Regions from separate parts of the Homo sapiens genome. Here all the other regions are linked to region 2. The links are contacts of gene promoters, found by promoter capture Hi-C in blood cells and fetal thymus (Javierre and others, 2016). All regions are on one chromosome and are shown on one strand. The core of a region is centred on a gene start or on the middle of the fragment in contact, and the rest is flanking DNA. Distances in the headings are between cores, read along the strand shown. Region 1 overlaps MOB1B (MOB kinase activator 1B). Region 2 holds the start of RUFY3 (RUN and FYVE domain containing 3). Region 3 overlaps MOB1B (MOB kinase activator 1B).

Region 1 (4,442 bases), core at 818-3,317, 240 kb before region 2:
GATCCACCCACCGTGGCCTCCCAAAATGCTGGGATTACAGACGTGAGCCACCGTGCCCGGCCTCTTAAATTTTCATGAGGTCTAATTTATTAATTTTTTCTTTTAAAAGCACACTTTTGGTTTTGTATGTAGAAACTCATCACCAAATCCAAGGTTGCACAGATTTTTCTCCTGTTTTTTTTTTCCTAGAAGTTTTATAGTATTGTGTTGTATTTTTAGGTCTATCATTCAATTCATGCTAATTTTTCTGAAAGGTGTAAATCTGTGTCTAGATTTATATTTCTGCATCTGGATGTCCCAGTGTTTCACCACTATTTGTTGAAAAAATAATACTTTCTCCACTGAATTGCCTTTTCTTCTTTGTCAAGATCAGCTGCCTATTTATATGGACCACTGGTCTCTTTCATAAATTCAAATAGATTTTTCTGTGTTCCATTTTGAACATATTCACTTTGAGATCAATTTAGACATCAAAATAGTGTTATCAGGTAGAGTTTTGACTAATTCGTGAAGCCTGGGGAGAGATCTCAACTACAGTGATGAATGCAAGAGTCCTTGGTAGGTAAATTTTTATTTTATTTGTTTAGAGAAGAGGTCTCCCTATGCTGCCCAGGCTAACCTCGAACTCCTGGGCTCGAGCCATCCTCCCACCTCAGCCTCTGGAGTAGCTAGGACTACAGGTGTGAACCACCACTCCCAGCTAATTTATTTTATTTTATATTTTTGTAGATACAGATTTTGCCCAGGCTAGTCACAAACTCCTGGCCTCAAACAATCCTCCCACCTCAGCCTCCCAAAATGCTGGGATTATAGCGTGAGCCAATGCACCTAGTCTCTCCTTATATTCTTCAGGATTATTTTTTATTATTCTATTTTTCTCCTGTATTAGCTAAGTAATTACACTTTCACCTATTATTTGGATATAGATCTTATCAATAATTCCCTTTACTCCTCTATGAACCTGAAATGTTTACTGAATCACTGCCAGTGACTGGAAGTATCTGTCCTGACTCCAACCCTATTCACCTACTTCATCAAGTGTCATTTGGGAAGATTGCTATAAATAAGGAAAATTTTAAATCCAACACTTCAGTTAAATGTTGTATTTTCAAAGCAGAGTATGCCCTAAGCAGATGTTCTAATGCTTCAGTCCAAAGCAATCTTTGTCCAGCTGTAGTAAAATCATAGAACTACTGTGAAATTTTAAGAGTTCTCAAAGTTCTAGGCGTTTCAGTAGTACAGTAGTCCTCCTTTATCTGTGGTTTCACTATCCATGGTTTCAGTTATCTGTGATGAACCATGGGCTGAAAATATTAAATGGAAAATTTCAGAAATAAACAATATATAAGTTTTAAATTGTGTGCCATTCTGAGTAACGTGATGAAATTTTACAGCATCTCACACCATCTCACTCCGTCCGCTTGGGATGTGAATCATCCCTCTGTCTAGCTGTATACCTGCTCATTAATCACCTATAGTAGCCACCTTGGTTATCAGAGTGAAGGATTACAAAAAGGGTTAAGTAAAGCACAATAAGATTATTTTGAAAGAGAGAGACTATATTCACATAACTTTTACTACAGTATAACTGTAATTGTTCTATTTTATTAACAGTTGTTAATCCCTTGCTGTGCTTAATTTTAAATTAATCTTTAATAAATTTTAAATTAAGCTTTATGAATTAAGCTTTATCATAGGTACGTAGTGTATAGGAAAAAACACAGTGTACAGAAGGTTCAGTACTATCACCGGTTTCAGGAATCCACTGGTCATCTTGGAATGTATCCCTAGCAGATAAGAGAGGTACAGACACTCAGTTGTGGCAACTGAGAAAGAGACAGAATACAGACAGAAAATTATTTGCTTTTATATTTAAAAGTCAGACTCTACTGTAATATAGAAGCTCTATACAGCCTTCCTTACATTTTAAACATGAGTAAATGAACTCTCAAATTTTACAAAAAGGCACAAATTAGTACAAAAAGAACGTACACATATATTGGAGATTCATTCTGAATATTGTCTTGGAGATGACACAGAAACATCTTAGAAATACGGCAGGCCTCATCAATAAAGCAAACAAATCACTTTATTTCAAATAACTAGACTCTCTTGGTCCAGGAGGATAATCACATAATAATAACATGGCTCTTGTGTAAATGCTGTCATGGTAAGTTTTAAGACATCACAATAAAATCCCCTGGTTCCTAAAAGGTATTAGAGGGGGGCAGCTCAATTTATAAATCCCATGACATAGTTCAAATTATAATAAGAGGCCATTAAATATAAGAAAAATACTGTTTTGCATTTCCTTAAAGCCTAGACATTTTGTGTATGCTTTCAATGAAATTTCATTTTATTTTTACTAAATTCAAATAAATTTCCTTTAATTATAAAATTCTATTATTACTATTTTTTTCACTAATGTTGAAAAACGCTGAAGCTTTTATTCCTCAACTTTCTCTGGCTTAATTCCCAAGAATATAATTACTATTCATACGTTATTCTCTGTAGGAGTTAAGAACATCTCATAAATATATTTTACTAATTTCATAAGATGACTACTTGATATCTTTTTTTAAAAAATAAGCACAACTGGCCGGGCGTGGTAGCTCACACCTGTAATCCCAGCCCTTTGGGAAGCTGAAGTGGGTGGATCACAAGGTCAGGAGTTCGAGACCAGCCTGACCAACATGGTGAAATCCCATCTCTACTAAAAATACAAAAATTAGCCGGACATGGTGGTGCGTGCCTATAATCCCAGCTACTCAGGAGGCTGAGGCAGAAGAATCGCTTGAACCCAGGAGGCAGAGGTTGGAGTGAGCCGAGATCATGTCACTGGTACTCCAGCCTGGGCGACAGAGCAAGAGTCGATCTCAAAATAAAAATAAAAATAAAAAAAGCACAATTAGACAAATAACTGAGTATGCCACTGAGAAAGGCAATTTAGTATAGTGGTTGACTCTATAGACTCTGAAATTCTATAGCTGTATATTTGATCCCAGGTTCTTCCATTTAATAGCTATATGACCTAGGCAAGTTACTAATTGTCTCAACTTAATCTATTAAACCGAAATAATAATCATACCTACATCATAAGGTTATAAAGATAAAATAAAATCATCCACGTAGAAAGGAGAGTGGTATGTCTATACAGTGTTTGACACATGAAAAATTATTATAATGAAGATAGTAAATCTATGCTTTGTATTAAAATAGGAAACAAGATTTCATAAAATTCCATATTCAGAAATAAAATAACAAGGACTGGATGTGGTGACTAGTGCCTGTAATCCTAGCACCGTGAAAGGCTGAGATAGAAGGATCACTTGAGGTCAGGAGTTCAAGACAATCCTGGACAACATAGTGAGAACTCCATCTCTACTAAAACATGTTTGTAAATGAGCCAGGCAGGGTGGTATGTGCCTACAGTCCCAGCTACGCTAGAGGCTGAGGGTGGGAGGACTGCTTGAGCCCAGGAGTTCAAGGCTGCAGTCAGCCATAACTGAGCCACTGTACTCCAGCCTTCCAGCCTGGGTGACTGAGTGAGACCCTGTCTCAAAAAGTAATAATAATAAAGTAAATAAAGTAACATGAAGGTTAAAGTTAGATTGAGATATCACTCTTTTATGATATTAGCTTACTAACTAAATCCTAGAATGGACAGCACCAACACTCACCAACAATGAGGCTATTACCCTAATTCACAGGCTACTGAGAAATAAAAAGGCTACTTACTGTTAACTGCAACCCATTCATTGAGATCTTCCCCTTCAGGAAGCATGACAGCCATCCGAAGGTTGCCACTGCCAAGTGTGGCTTCTGCGTGTTTTAAGAGCTCATACTGGTGAGAACCCTCTGGAATGTTCTTCTTTGGTTTAAAAGTTTTAGAAGAGCGACTACCACTATGAATAGAAAAGAAAAAAAAAGGGTTTAATATTTAAGGCATGACATTCAATAGAGTCATTCACCAAGCATTAGACCTAAACTGTATTGGCTTAAATCCCAGCAATAGAATTGCTGTAACTACTGTGCTCTCCATCCAAAACTCCTACAAACTTTCTCTGCTGTGTCTAGTTAACTCACAAAAAGAAAAATTTTTAAGCTGTAACTAACACCTCTTCTCAATAAATTAATGAAAAAACAAAAAAGTACTTCCATGATGTTTTAGTTATTGTATTCCTTTCACTCCTATTCTAAGTCTCTCATTCTAATAAAATAAATTTGTTTCCTTCTTAAAAGAAATATAGAGATACAATTTGATATCAATAAAACATAAAAATCCTGGAACAAGAAAAAAAAGCTACATGTTCAGCCAGGCACAGTGGCTCACACCTGTAATCCCAGCACTTTGAGGCAGAGGTAGGCGGATTACCCAAGGGTCAGGAGTTGGAGACCAGCCTGGTCAACATGGCGAAACCCCATCTCTACTAAAAATGCAA
Region 2 (4,899 bases), core at 1,875-4,374:
ATTATGCTGTTTGCCTATTTTCTTTTGTGGGAGTGAGGAGACTTCACTCTAGGATTTGGGTGGTCAGATGTTTTTCCCTCTGTGAATCAGCCCGGAAAGCAGTCTGAATACTCCCGCGTCCAGACATCAGGAGTTCCATTTTGTGAACAAGGTGAGATTCACATAATCATGGGCCTGGTGACCACCACTTAAATGCTTATAGCTAAATTAAATCTAATAACTATCAGTGGTATTAACATAAAAGTGGGTATTTCTTGGGACCAAATGACTGTTTAAATATCCAGAGTTTGGTAATGGAGCAAGGCAGTAATACTCACAGGCTTTCATGGGACTATGCTTTCTTTATTTTCATTTCTAGTAATTTAAAATAATAGCTTTCTTGCCCAATTTAAGGCAAAATTCTAAAATGCACTGTCGGCATTTCTCTATTTTCTTCCAAATCCTCTATAGTTGATTACAGGTCTTGGAAACTCTGTATTTATCTGATTTCTTTAATCAGCAGACATACAATTTATTACTTAGATTATAGCTCTCACACATTTTCCATACTGAGAAATGTGTTGCTACAGATTTCTCTATGAAGAATTCAAATGGCGCTGCTAAAAACGCTTACATGAACCAAACAGCTCACTTTTGCTTATCCATAGGAATCCTGCTCCAAAAACATATATTTGAGGTGTTAAAATTGTTAAAAATTATTTTTGAGACACTGGTAAACTAGATTTCATGATAAAGGGAATATTTCATATTGTATAACTCTCAAATTGGACGGGAATACATTTTTTTCAAACAAAATATGTAAACTGAGGCAGTTGCCAGAAGACTTCTTGGTAGCCTTCTAAAACTGTATTTTTCTTCCCTAAAGACTTTTAAAGCTTTGGAGGCTGTTTTAAGTAGTACTGGAATTGTTGGATGTAACGATGTTTTGATGAAAATATAGAATAAAATAATAATAAAAAATAAATAGTACTGGCATTGCATGGAATTTCAGCTGATGTCTTATAACTTGTGCACATAACGAAACATACAGCCAAAGAAAGCTGTCTAATTAACAAACCAATTGTTAAAAGATGCAAAGGGTCTTAAAAACCACTTAAACATTGTTCTTAAAGACACACCCAAAATGACTGCTTTGTGTTCTGTGTTATTAACCATCCCTAAAACTTTCTCAAGGCTAAGGCTGACTGGGAAGATAAAATGCTTATCAAACACAATGGGAAAATTCTGAGTCATGATAAGATTTCAACTCAAGGTCAAAGGCAGAGAATCACCTTTCCTAACCCCATCTGCTAGGTACAATTCACCTATGGTCTTCTTTGTCCTGTCGATGTGCCTAACTATCAGGCAGATGTTTATAAAGAATTTCTCCTCATATGCAAGCGTTTTTTGTTTTTTTTCATCAGTATAAGGACAGAGAATAAACCTTAGCTAAGAAGCAACTGTATTAAAAACAAAACGATTTGTAGCTATGATTCAAATCAGCTCTCTTTCTGTGGTATTAAGAGAATTAAAGGGTAGAAGCAGAAAACCTCTCATAAATTAGCAAGAGTCCTGGAAAAAAGTCGCAAGTCAAGAGACCACAAAGATCTCAGAGGTACTGACAGTGGAAATCTCAAATGGATCATAATAGTTACCACAAATAATTTATAAAAAGCAATGGCCAATAGATTCCAATATTACCATTCTATTGTAATCTATAGGGATGCCATATTAATCATATTTAACCTTTCCAGGCATTATGCTTTCTTAGGAGTCCATATTCAATAAATAAATGCTGAAAAGTTATTTTCTCATCTAACCTAATAATCCATATTGTTAAAAAAATGTTTTATCAAACATTTCCTAGATGTCATAACTTGCTTAAAATTGTATCCTCATATAATGGTGAGGATACCATTACCAAATACCCTGGTGTTTCTACTGTATTCATCATGTACAATCCTATAATTATAGTCATGTTGTCTTAACTTAGTGTTATAAATCACTACAATTTCTATAACATTTTCATATATGAACAAAATTAATAGCTTTCTCATTATTGAATAGAATCAGATGTGATAAGTGACCTCAAATGTTTTATTTAGAGGCTTAAAGACAAAGAACTCTAAACGAGTATCCAGCATCTTTTGAAAGGATACCTAAAGGGGCAAGAAAAAAAATTATCTTTCCCCCATGAGCAAGAGAAGGGGAGCTGGGTGGTAAGTAAGGATGCAAGGTTTTCAGGACTGTTAACAGTTGAGAGTGTAGGTTCTTTCTACCTCTCCCTGATCCTCCCAGCCCTCCCCCATAACAATGAGGATGCTGGTGAAATACTAGCGGACAGGATCTGACCATACCTTCATGGGTAGGCTCTGGGTCAGGTGTAAGTGAGATGTCATCCAGCTCTCGCAGGCAGAGCCATTCTCCATCCATGGACACTCGGAATTTGCAAAGGTAGATGGTCTCCATGGCAGCCTGTGTGATCTTGTCAGTGGTGGGGGTTGGCATATCGGTCGGAGGCGTCAGAGCAGACATGATGACTCAGCTGGGACCACAACACACACACAGACACACACACACTCACACACACACACCAAAAAAATAAATACAACCTCCTCACCAAAAAAACCCAATACAAAGCTCTGAAACAAAGCTTTCAGGAAAAGGGTGGGGGAGGTTTAAAAAAAAAAAAAAGGAAAAATACCTTATAGGTTAAGAACAAACTGCTCAAGATAAACAATTCTACACTATCTTATAGACAGTTCCTACCACATAGCAAAATAAGATGATGCTTGTCTTCTCCCAGCTTCCTCTCCTTTTATCTTCCCTTCCCTGCCCCCCACCTTTTTTTTCAGCTGAGCTATAGGCTTTAAATCCCGCACAGCTGATGCTGCCTTAGCTGGCTTTAAAAATCTGGCCTCGATATGAGTAAGTGAAAAATCCTCCTCCTTTGTGCAGAAAAAAAATATAAAAGAAAAACCTGAACAAAAAATAAACCTATATTTTCAATGTAGCTTAAAAAAAAAATCCTGAGCTGCAGAAATCACTTCCAGGATCTGCTCAGATGAGCTGGGATGCTGAGTTCTCATAGGATTGGCCGTGCGCAGTAAGCAGGGTGTTGACCAAAATGGCTGACTAATGAACTGAACTGAAAATTCAGGCTCATGTGACCAGCTGCTCTGAACGTAGGGCAAGCAATTCCCAGGATGCTTTATAGATGCTGCTGATGCTGGGAGAGCAATTAGGCTTCTCTCTCTCATCCTGTACAACCCACTTCCAGACTGTGCTAGTCAAACTGTGATCAGACATAACACAATGCACATATCCTCATCAATTCTTCTTACTTTGGGATCAAGGACTGAATAAAAGGATGACAATTAATACCGGATAATAATCTATAGTAAAGATGGTAAAAGAGGCAGTTAGATTAATTTAACAAGCATATAATTCACCTCTTTCATTCTTATCTACATAGCTATTAAAATTCTTTACTATGCTAAATGTTATGTTTTAAGAAAAGCTAAAGCATAAAAAATTGAGGTTCTCAGAGGGAAAAAAAACAAAAAGATAAAAAGAAAAGCTAAAGTAGATTTTCAATTTAAATATCTTATTCTTGGGCATTTATAATTTCCTTCTCCAAGGTACAAAAACCTGACCTTTTAGGTTAGGCAGAAATGCAAAAAAAAAACTTCAAGTTAAAAAAGTAAAATCTTTCCCAATTAATGGCAATTTCCCCCCTTTTTGATTTTGTTGTATTTATCAAGTTTCTGTATTAAGCATAAAATACGTTTCTTTTTTTTTCTTTTTTCTTTTTTGAGACAGAGTCTTGCTCTGTAGCCCAGGCTGGAGTGCAGTGGCGTGATCTCAGCTCCCAGGTCCAAGCAATTCTCTGCCTCAGCCTCCCGAGTAGCTGGGATTACAGGCACCCACCACCACGCCCAGCTAATTTTTGTATTTTTAGTAGAGACGGGGTTTCACCATCTTGGCCAGGCTGGTCTTGAACTTCTGACCTCATGATCCTCCCACCTCAGCCTCCCAAAGTGCTGGGATTACAGGCGTGAGCCACCATGCCCAGCCTTAAGCATGAAATATGTTTCTAAGCAGATTAAACCATGTTATATTTTTAAAATCCTCCCATTCGATAAGATACTGAAGACAATTATATTTTCTTAATACACACACACACACACACACACACACACACACACACACACACACACGGCCCTATATTATCCAATGAGGCATTTATACCTTGGTAGCAAAAGGGCAGGTACTTGCTTTATGAACTACATAAATTACAAAGAGAAGAATAAGAATTTTCTTTGAAAATGTTTTGGACAATTGAAAGAAAGTGTTTGTTTGTTTTTGTATTGAAGGGTTCCAATTTTAAGGAGGAACATACAAATTCAAGAAATATGACCTGAGACTATTCCTTTCTAGGGATTGTTATCAGAGGGACATCTTGATTTACCTAATTTCTGAAAACTAAAAAAATTCTCCTTGAATATTGTTAAAATCTCAAATGCTTCATCATAATTTGAGACTGAACTGAAAGAAAAAAATGCTAATAATCAAATTCTGTAGAGAAACTGGCATTTTCATATTGTTACGAAGACAGGGCGGATGGCTGGGCGCGGTGGCTCATGCCTATAATACCAGCACTTTGGGAGGCCAAGGCGGGCAAATCACCTGAGGTCAGGAGTTCGAGACCAGCCTGGCCAACATGGTGAAACCTCATCTCTACTAAAAATACAAAAATTAGTCAGATGTGGTGGCATGTGCCTGTAATCCCAGCACTTTGGGAGGCTGAGGCAGGTGAATGGCTTGAGCTCAGGAGTTTGAAACCAGCCTGGGCAACATGGCAAAACTCCATCTCTACAAAAACAAAAATTAGCAAGGTATGGTTGCGCGCACATGTGG
Region 3 (4,696 bases), core at 2,086-4,585, 220 kb before region 2:
ACAATTTAGAAGCAGGTCCCATATGTCTTATTCACTTGGGTATTTTTTCAGAAGCTACCTTCTAATGCAGTAAATGATCAATGATTGTTGATTTTTTTTAAAAAGTTACTATACCTTGAACTACTGTCTTTAGAAAAGTTTATCAAAGCTCTTTCACTATTTTATGTCAGATGATTATTCATCATTGTGGGGTAAGTGGAAAACATGATTAACTATAAGAAATGATGTGAGCTAATCTTGCTAAAGATCCAGGTGTTGAGATACTGGATGTCATCCCAGTTCTTTGCTCACCTCAAAGATCATCACAGTTATAACAGCTGTGCTGTTCAATGGGCAAAACTAGCACCAAGTGCAAAAAGCAGAACTAGTAAACTACTTGTTCCTCTTCCATAAAAGCTGAACCACCCCATTTAGCTAATGGAATCTCTAGAACTATGTGAAATGAGAATGTATGCTTATACAATATTATGTCAAAAAAACCATCAGAAATGACCCTATGGTTTTATTTTTAAAAGGTAAAGTACTTTCTAGGGTGACAGAAATGTTTCAGGTTTTAAAAGCAGTGTGGTTTACAAAAAGCATACACTCTTTTAACTATACACTTAAGTTCTGAGCACTTCATGTTTTGTAAATCATATCTCGATAAAATAAAAATAACTTAGCAATGAACTCCCCGAACCCACTGAGATATATTTCTGAGCTACATTAAAGGGAAATACTGCCACAATGCTCTTAAACATTCATATAATAATTTTTTCTTTGCTTACTTCTTTGCCTCCAGTTCTTTATTTTGAGTCTTTCATAATCCGACAATATGAACCTTCTCTCTACAGACAAAAAACACAATATTTTGCATACAGGAATTCAGGGAGGGGCTAAAACCTGTTCATAAACCCAGATACAGAAATCCTGCCCTAGTCTGTATCTTTTCCCTGAGGTTATCATAAAAACATCAGTTTCTCTTTAAATGTCTATGAGCTTCACATTTAATTTCTAATCCTATAGACATATCTTTTAGATAAAACACACATACATTCAGGATAGGTACAAGTTTTATTTCAATTAAAAACTACAGTTTAGGTTTATTCTTTTTCTATTAAACAGTGACTAGCAGAAAGCTTTAATCATATTTATAAAATAATTTATGTTAAAGTTCAAAACCATGGCATTTATGAGAAATTCAATGCATTAAATTCATTCTTAAAAAAATAAAGAAATCCATGCTAATGCCTATAAAAACTGATAAAGTGTACTAGGAAATAACTTTACTTATTAAATGGCAATTCCACTTTAATAGACCACTAGAATATTAAATATTAAATATTAAATATTTAATAGACCACTAGAATATTAAATGGCAATTCCACTTTAATAGACCACTTTAATATTACCACTAGAAGATATTGGTAATATGTACACAAAAGTTATAAACTATTTTCTCCTATAAATCTAACTTCAAATGCAGCTGATTTGAGTGTTTGCTTCTTAGGATTTTTCGTTTTTAATAAAATAAGAATCATTCCTGGTTTGGAGGTCAATTTTAACCAATGTGTAATTAAGGTCAAAGACATTGAGGATTTAAATGAGAGTTGCCAAAGCATACTTCTGATGCATAATCTGAATAATCTGAAATATTAGCTAAGATTGATAATAATATTAAATTATAAAACTTACTAAAGCCTTTCACAACTATTAAAACATTCTAATCAAGAGGTTTAAGAAATTTAGAAACAAAATTCTTATACAGGGTTACCATCAAATCATCTGTTCTTCTGACAGATATTGAAGTATCTCGGTCCAGTTTTACCATAATGATAAAATTAAAAATACCAAGCATGTGATCTCAGTAATTAGCTTTACTTTAAAAGATTAAATTAGCATTTGAATGTTCGAATGTTAATTTTCTCTGAAAAGAAAGATACCAAAGTTTCTCTGAAAAGAAAGATACCAAAGAGAAATGTCACAAGGAAGGATGGAACAGAGTAAGGGAAAGAAGGAAGAAATTTCTTGACTGGGCACGGTAGCTCACACCTGTAATCCCAGCACTTTGGGAGGCCGAGACGGGCGGATCACAAGGTCAGGAGATCGAGACCATCCTGGCCAACACAGTGAAACCCCGTCTCTACCAAAAATACAAAAAATTAGGCGGGCGTGGTAACGGGCACCTATAGTCCCAGCTACTTGGGAGGCTGAGGCAGGAGAATGGCGTGAACCCAGGAGGCGGAGCTTTCAGTGAGCCGAGATCACCACATTGCACTCCAGCCTGGGCAACAGAGCGAGACTCCGTCTCAAAAAAATAAATAAATAAAATAAAACAAATTTCTTAAGTTGCAGCAGATAAAAGTGACAAAGAAGTAAGCAGAAATTAGAGTATAGTACTGAGAACATATTTCATGTCTAAAGGGGCACCTGGAAATTCAAATCAACCTGTTAAGAAACAGCCACTACTACTGTGTGTGTATGGCATAGAAAAGAAAAAAAAAAAAAAAGAGCCAAAGTAGCCAAGAGAGATATGATAGCCAGATACAAATAAAGAGAAAATCAGACAATGTACATGTGGCAAGAGTTGTCTACTTCTGCAGTCATAGTAAGACAAAATACTACAGTTAAATTTGGTTAATCAAATCCTAAATTCAAAGCTGAGATACATTAAAAGACCAATTAATATTTAATGCCGGGCCGGGCGTGGTGGCTCACGCCTGTAATCCCAGCACTTTGAGAGGCCGAGGCGGGCGGATCACCTGAGGTCAGGAGTTCGATACCAGCCTCAACATGGAGAAACCCTGTCTCTACTAAAAATACAAAATTAGCCGGGCGTGGTGGTGCATGCCTGTAATCCCAGCTACTCGGGAGGCTGAGGCAGGAGAATTGCTTGAACCTGGGAGGTGGAGGTTGCTGTGAGCTGAGATTGCGCCATTGCACTCCAGTCTGGGCAACCAGAGCGAAACTCTGTCTCAAAAAAAAAAAAAAAAATTAATGCCCTAATATTATTTTTATTATTAACCTGAAAACAAAAACGAAAGGAAAATTGTTCATCCATTCGGAATCAGATTTTAGAGACATTTAACTGATAACAATGTTGATACATGGACAGAGATTCATCTTTAATCCTCTAGGATACCTAATACGGGCAAGTCACCACCATGTTAAGCACTGTGGGAAGCTAGGAAAACACATAACAGATATTCCTTGCAGTTCAAATTTGGTGGTTTGTGTTGTTTTCTGACATGGGGTCTCGCTCTGCTCTCACCCAGGCTAGAGTGCAGTGGTGCGATCTTAGCTCACTGCAACCTCCACCTCCTAGTGGTATAGAAGGGAGGCAGAAAAGTGCTGGGTAGACAGAGGAAGGTGGGTCTCTGGAGAGGGCTGGGCCTGTGCCCATGGACCTAGGTGAGGACAGGCACTCCTGCCTTTATGCCCAAATGCTGCATTTCTCAAGACCACCCTGGCCCACCATGGCCCCATCCTGTGCCTATAAAAACCCCCGAGACCCTAACAGGAGAGACACAAGCGGCTGGACGTGGAGAGGAACACATCAGCGGAAGAAGACAAAAGCGGCTGGAGGTCAAGAGGACATCGAGTGGAGCACACCGGCAGGACAGCAAACCAACAGATGCTGGCACTGGGCAGGCCATAAACCAACGGAAAGATGCAGAGACGGGCTAGGGCAGTCGGAGGAGACACTGGGCCACACAGTGGCCAGACTCCAGGGGAAAATCATCTCCCCCTGGCTCCTCCATCTTCTGAGAGCTACTTCCGCTCAATAAAACCTTGCATTCTTTCTCCAAGTCCACCTGTGATCCAATTCTTCTGTACACCAAGGCAAGAACTCCGGGATACAAAAAACTCTCTGTCCTTGTTAGGCAAGAGGTCTCAATGAGCTGATGGGTAAACTAAAAGAGCACCGGGTAACACACGCCCACTGGGGCTTCAGCACTGCACACTCCCTGTAGAGGTTTGAGCAGCAGGACACCAAAGAAGCGAGCCACACCCCCGACCGCACACCCTTTAAGGGGGACAAGGGAACCTTTCCCGTTTCACCACATTCAAGAGATCCTCCCAGCCTCAGCCTCTTGAGTAGCTGGGATTGCAGGTGTGCGCCACCATGCCTGGATAATTTTGTATTTTTAGTAGAGATGGGGTTTTGCCACGTTGGCCAGGCTGGTCTTGAACTCCTGACCTCAGGTGATCCGCCCACCTTGGCCTGTGATTACGGGTGTGAGATTACAGGTGTGAACTACTGCACCCAGACTAGGATTGGGTTTTCTTAGGGACATTAAATCAGTTATTCATCTACTTTATAATTTCCAAAATTTAGTTGTTTTCTCTTTCATTCTTTTTATTTCTATGAGATTATGATTTAAAAAACTTCACTTTATTGTGACTTTGAGTAGGAAGTGGAGGCTAGTGTATGTTTTCAGCCCAACATCTTCAATAGTTTTCTTGTAAGTACTAAACCATTTTATTGTTCTGTTAAGCATTTGCAATTGTGTTGTGTCTAAGTGAAAGGAAATTGTGTTATTGTGTTGAATCACTGCAGTGTATTAGTAGATATTCTTAAAATCTTTTTTCAACAAATTTGATATTTCCTTTTTCCAACTTTGACTGTTCAGCAGCTCTCATTTTTGCAAGAAAACAGATGAATCCAAATTTGAACTGCAAGGGGCCAGGCTCAGTGGCTCATGCCTATTATCCC

The links. The method cuts DNA at HindIII sites, captures the fragments that hold promoters and counts their contacts. A CHiCAGO score of 5 or more calls a contact.
Region 1: a fragment that was not itself captured here is called in contact with the fragment with the promoter of RUFY3 in region 2 in 2 of 17 cell types (total B cells and non-activated CD4 T cells); the score reaches 7.6 in total B cells.
Region 3: a fragment that was not itself captured here is called in contact with the fragment with the promoter of RUFY3 in region 2 in 2 of 17 cell types (M0 macrophages and fetal thymus); the score reaches 6.0 in M0 macrophages.

What each region holds. Positions count from the first base shown.
Region 1 is chr4:70,958,337-70,962,778 of GRCh38, reverse strand. MOB1B (MOB kinase activator 1B) reads right to left here. Exons shown (of 6, transcript NM_173468.4): 2 at 3,739-3,905. Among named protein-coding and RNA genes, the nearest start is that of DCK, 33 kb to the left of the region's middle. The HindIII fragment of the contact is 757 bases long and covers 1,689-2,445 here.
Region 2 is chr4:70,720,189-70,725,087 of GRCh38, reverse strand. RUFY3 (RUN and FYVE domain containing 3) reads right to left here and starts at 3,124. Exons shown (of 18, transcript NM_001037442.4): 1 at 2,337-3,124. The coding sequence starts at 2,514. The HindIII fragment of the contact is 24,519 bases long and covers 2,635-4,899 here.
Region 3 is chr4:70,938,954-70,943,649 of GRCh38, reverse strand. All of the region lies in intron 1 of MOB1B (MOB kinase activator 1B), which reads right to left. Among named protein-coding and RNA genes, the nearest start is that of MOB1B, 39 kb to the right of the region's middle. The HindIII fragment of the contact is 4,430 bases long and covers 1,121-4,696 here.